Linked DNA regions of Homo sapiens: region 1 is linked to region 2. Evidence: promoter capture Hi-C in 16 types of primary human blood cells and fetal thymus (Javierre and others, 2016). All regions are on one chromosome and are shown on one strand. The core of a region is centred on a gene start or on the middle of the fragment in contact, and the rest is flanking DNA. Distances in the headings are between cores, read along the strand shown. Region 1 holds the start of KRT76 (keratin 76). Region 2 holds the start of KRT85 (keratin 85).

Evidence for each region. The method cuts DNA at HindIII sites, captures the fragments that hold promoters and counts their contacts. A CHiCAGO score of 5 or more calls a contact.
Region 1: a contact is called between the fragment with the promoter of KRT76 here and the fragment with the promoter of KRT85 in region 2, in 2 of 17 cell types (megakaryocytes and erythroblasts). The highest score is 5.0, in megakaryocytes.

The regions. Positions count from the first base shown.
Region 1 is chr12:52,776,022-52,778,721 of GRCh38, reverse strand. KRT76 (keratin 76) reads left to right here and starts at 1,377. Exons shown (of 9, transcript NM_015848.4): 1 at 1,377-2,030. The coding sequence starts at 1,431. The HindIII fragment of the contact is 4,392 bases long and covers 1-2,687 here.
Region 2 is chr12:52,366,134-52,368,833 of GRCh38, reverse strand. It overlaps KRT85 (keratin 85), which reads left to right and starts at 1,353. Exons shown (of 9, transcript NM_002283.4): 1 at 1,353-1,848. The coding sequence starts at 1,429. The HindIII fragment of the contact is 4,446 bases long and covers 1-2,700 here.

The sequences.
Region 1 (2,700 bases), core at 128-2,627, 410 kb before region 2:
AGCAGTAACTCATCATGTGTCATTCGTTCTGCCATCAGGGGTCCTCCATCCTCCTATTCCTGGCCCATATGGTGTAGCCATGGTCTAGACCAGGGTTTCCCAGACTTTCCGCATTATAAGAATGACCTGGAGGGCTTGTTAAAAATGCAAACTCTCAACCCTTTCCTCTGAAGATTTTCATTCATAGGGCTGGGGTGGGAGCTGGTTTTAGGTATTTGCATTCTTAGACATCAGTCATCAGTCAGTTAACACGTTTGTGCTGTGCTTACCCTATGCTAGGAGCTGGACATTTAGGATAATTTAGAATGGGCAGGACTCAAGCCTTGCCCTCAAGAAGCTCAGGGACCGGAGGGGTATGGACAAGTAAGCAGGTAAGTATACTTTATGTCAGGTTCACGATGGGAAAAGTACAGGGTATGGTGGGAAGACAAGGAGGGGCATCTGACCCAGACCAGGGGGTAAAGCAGGGAGGGGATCCCCTCCAGAAGATCTGAGTTGGGGCCTAGACACAAGATACACTGTCCTCCTAAGATGAATGGGGTGCTTGAGCCGACTCTACCAGCCAGCTGGAGGGTTACCAGATTCTGTCTCCTCTTGCTTCTGGGTCCAGAAATTGCCTGCTGTCAGTCTAGGATGGTGGGGGGAGGGCTTGGTCTGAGGCTCTCCACAGTGCATGCCCCCTCTTCTTCCCAAACCTCATACTTGTTTGCTCCCTGTTCCAGGAGCTAGACGTGTTTACCTCCACTGTAATTTCTTCCCCATAAGTAGCATTTCTCAGCCCAAACTCCAGGTTTGCTGAGATGGATGCCTTTGGCTGAGGTGCTGGCAGAGCAGACTCTATGGGTCTGGGCCCCTCTCACTTCCGCTCCCACTCCAGGCCCTCTGAAGAGTTGGGAACAGGTGACATGCCACTGGAAGAAAAGGCCTAATGATGGCAGAGACGGGCGCAGCCACTGTGGGAGCCTGTGGACACTGTGGTGCTGCAGGGAGGGACCCAGCCCACTCAGAAGAGGTTGCCTGGTCCTCACCCCCCTGTGTCAGGGAGCTCATGGCTCCGGATCACCTGGTGTCTAAAGCTGCTTCCTCCTGCTGGATCAGGTGCTGCTTGGGTTCCCTGAAACCCTTGAGGACAGCACAAAAAGGGAGGGAGGAGAGCTCCAGCATTTTGTCAACTGAGGCAAGTTTAGGTGATTAAGCTAAGAAAGCAAAGCCACTCTGGCCCAGAGGATTATCTCTGAGGTGTGTTGGGAACCAAGAAGTAACTTAATGCCTACGAGGCAAACCAAACCCAAGATGATTCTCAACTAATTGCTCGCCTCTCCTTTTGCCAAGCCAAACTCCCTGTTATATAAAGGCCAGTCTCCTCTCTTGTCCCTATCCCTCTCAGCTCTTGCTAAGTGATCACTAGCTTGCCTCCAAGCTCTCTCACTATGAACAGACAAGTTTGCAAGAAATCCTTCAGTGGCAGGAGCCAGGGTTTCTCTGGCCGCTCTGCTGTGGTCTCCGGCAGCAGCAGGATGAGCTGTGTGGCCCGCTCTGGGGGAGCTGGTGGAGGGGCCTGTGGCTTCAGGAGCGGAGCAGGCAGCTTTGGCAGTCGCAGCCTCTACAACCTGGGCAGCAACAAGAGCATCTCCATCAGCGTGGCAGCTGGCAGCTCCCGGGCTGGAGGCTTTGGGGGAGGGCGGAGCAGCTGTGGCTTTGCAGGTGGCTATGGAGGTGGCTTTGGGGGCAGCTATGGTGGTGGCTTTGGTGGTGGCAGAGGAGTAGGTAGTGGTTTTGGAGGGGCTGGTGGCTTTGGTGGAGCTGGTGGCTTTGGTGGTCCTGGTGTATTTGGTGGGCCTGGCAGCTTTGGTGGTCCTGGTGGCTTTGGCCCTGGGGGCTTTCCTGGGGGAATTCAGGAAGTGATTGTAAACCAGAGTCTCCTGCAGCCCCTCAATGTGGAGATCGACCCCCAGATTGGGCAAGTAAAGGCCCAGGAGCGGGAACAGATCAAGACCCTCAACAACAAGTTTGCCTCCTTCATCGACAAGGTGAGGGCAAGGCCAAGAGGTGCTGTGGAGGGTTTGGGGTGCCCAGGGGTCGGTGTAGAAAGATGCCATGGGGACTTGTGAGACACAGGGCAGGGGCGCTTGGCTCTTGTCCTGGTGCTGTCTTGGTCCCTACAGGACAGTGATCATGCCCCTTTCACTTTTTGGGCCTTCTTTTTCCAGCTGTGAAATGGGGGGAAGAATTCCTGGTCCTGGTTTCCTGCTAAGAATGAGATGAGGGTAAATGAAGTGGGGGTCCAAACATGCTCTTAGCTTTTTGAAGAATGAGCCATTTTAGTCATGAAATTATTGCAGTTACTTTAATTTCTCCTGAAAAGCAATTGCTTGATAATCCAAAGTAGCTGGTAATCAAAACCTTGTGTTAGCACAGATCTTGAGGCTGCATCTAAATGAGGTGCATTGGCAGCTGCCTTACCTTCCAGATGATGCTGTGCTTCAGCCAATAATTAAACTGAGCTGTCCATGCTGGGGCAGAGGAGGGTGTTCTGGGTCTGTGTGGGACTGAGCCCAGGATCTGAAGTGAATTCTAGTTCAGCTGCAAGCTGAATAACTGAAAGGAGGTCTTCCTATGTGAAACTTCTAAAGAAATGTTAGACCTCATTGACTGTATTCACTGCCTTTATGGAGCTGAAAAAAGCTTACATCTAAAAAA
Region 2 (2,700 bases), core at 104-2,603:
AGCCTGATCCTGGGTGAAGGTCCTGGGTGAGGTCAGCTGGCTGTGGAGATTAGAGCAGATGCAGGACAGAGTACAGGGCATTTCGTGAAGGACTTATGAGAACAGCAGCATGATGGCAGTGTTTGGTTATGGAAGGCTTCCTGGAGGAGGAGTCACCCTCTGAGGAAGCTCATCGGCTCTTCTTCCTTAAGTTCCTAACACTTGGGTGTCTGGCTAACCTTCCTGGGGGCAGACCCACATCCCCAAGGTTTGTACTCCATAAACATTAAAAGAATAGCACTTGTTATCCTAATAAGTGTCCCAAGGACACACAGGGAAGCAGAAACTAGAAGGATGGGGCTCCCAGAACCCCCAGGAGCCAGAAGTCATAGCCACCTTAGACAAGAATAAACCACTATCCCACTTCCAGCTTTGTGCAATGCAGTCTCTAAACACTCCTCTAGGGATGACAATTCAAGGGCTGGCCAACAGAAGGAATACCTCTTGTAGCTGGTGGTCTGGGAAGGGAGACTCACATGACCTGTTTCTTCTTAAAGAGCAAAGCAAAGGTGCCCACAGCAAATTTATAGCCCCCAGGTTATCCCAAGGTTGAGTTCTCCAATCCTTTTGACCGAATGGAAGAAAGTGGCTAGAGGGAGTCTCCCCATAATCCGCAAGTAGCCATTATTGTGGCCACTGAGAGTTCTGTGGTTTGCACTTTTGCTGGGTGAGAAGTGAAAGCTCTGGACCAGCGCCTTCTGGGCTGGAATCCAGAAGGTTCCAAGAGATCATCTGCCCCAGCCTTTTATCCTGGCACGGGCATGGTCAAAATGACCGCTCTGGTCCTGAACCACCTTCCAAGCAATGCTGCCTAGATGGGGTGGGATTCGCCTGACCTATTGGCCCCTGAAATGCAATGATTTACTTGAGAATGTGTCCTCTGTGGAACCAGATAGATGAATGCAATGATCCCCCAAGTCTCACCTAACCCAGGACCCTCCAACCTCTCCCTTGAGACAATGGCTCCTGCCTGTATCCCAAACCCAGCCACCCCCAGGCTGTTGTGGAGTTCAAATCCGTCTCCAAGTGTGGGTTGAGGCCATCTCACAGAAAGACTGTGAGAAAATTAATTACTTAATGTATGTAAACGAGCTTTGAAGATGAAAAGTTCAAATGCAGTCTCCTTAATAACATCTTCAAGACTTCAGGGAGCCCCAGAGTCGCTGCTGAGCTCACCTTTAAGATGAGTCCGTGGGGAGTTGCTGGCAAACTCCCCAAGCCCATAAACAACATAAAATGGCTTTCCACTCCTTTTATGCAGCCAACCCCAGCTCTCCCCACCAATAAAAGGACCAGGGAGGATCAGAGAGAGCAGAAGGATCCTGAGCCTCGCACTCTGCCGCCCGCACCACCTTCCGCTGCCTCTCAGACTCTGCTCAGCCTCACACGATGTCGTGCCGCTCCTACAGGATCAGCTCAGGATGCGGGGTCACCAGGAACTTCAGCTCCTGCTCAGCTGTGGCCCCCAAAACTGGCAACCGCTGCTGCATCAGCGCCGCCCCCTACCGAGGGGTGTCCTGCTACCGAGGGCTGACGGGCTTCGGCAGCCGCAGCCTCTGCAACCTGGGCTCCTGCGGGCCCCGGATAGCTGTAGGTGGCTTCCGAGCCGGCTCCTGCGGACGCAGCTTCGGCTACCGCTCCGGGGGCGTGTGCGGACCCAGCCCCCCATGCATCACTACCGTGTCGGTCAACGAGAGCCTCCTCACGCCCCTCAACCTGGAGATCGACCCCAACGCACAGTGCGTGAAGCAGGAGGAGAAGGAGCAGATCAAGTCCCTCAACAGCAGGTTCGCGGCCTTCATCGACAAGGTGGGTGAGGCCTGAGACGGCCCAGAGAAGCCTCCAGCCCTGTCCTCCCTTGGGGAGGTCCCAGTCTGCTGAGGAGACAGGATGGCTGCCGGTTTGAGGCAGCAGAGGGAATGACGTGCAGACCCATACAGGTGGAAGGGTCAGTTTCCATCACTTAACTCCCGCAGCATTTAACGAGGTCCAGGTGTGGTCTAGAAATTGAGCCTGTGATCCAAAGTGTGTGCATGTGTGTGTGTGTACATGTGTGTGTGTGTAGCGGTGTGTGCGCCTGTACGTATGTTAGTGTGTGGTGTGTATATGTGTGTGTGTACATGTGTGTGAGCATATGTGTGTGTATGCATGTGAGTGTGTACATGTGTGTGAGCGTGTGTGTGTTTCTTGAGCCAAGACGACATAGGACTATCAGAACTGTGTCTGAAAAACCAGACTGGGCAGCAGGTGCTGGAAGAGTGGGAGATAACGGGGAGACCAAAAGACCTTGTGGCTCCTAGCCAGGCAGCCCGTGAAGGGGCTGGGGTAATGCCCACAGCCATGCTGCCTCTCCCAAGTCCTTGCTGCATCACTCAGCAGTGTGAGACCCCAGGCAGGTTACTCTGCTGAATAACAGGACTGCCTCATCCACCTGTGAGGAATTAATGAGTCCATGCATGAAACATGATGGCAAATAGTCAGCACTCAATACATGTTAGCTGCTACTATCATTATTTTCCAAGGACAGTGGTAGGTGAGGAGGTGTGACAGCCAACCCAGGCCTGGCAGCCCCTTCATGAGAGAGGGCTGAAATGCAGACAGGGAGGTGGCCAGGCTGGTAGGAGGAGGCCCCCTAATGCAGCCAGAGTGTGGAGAACGCTG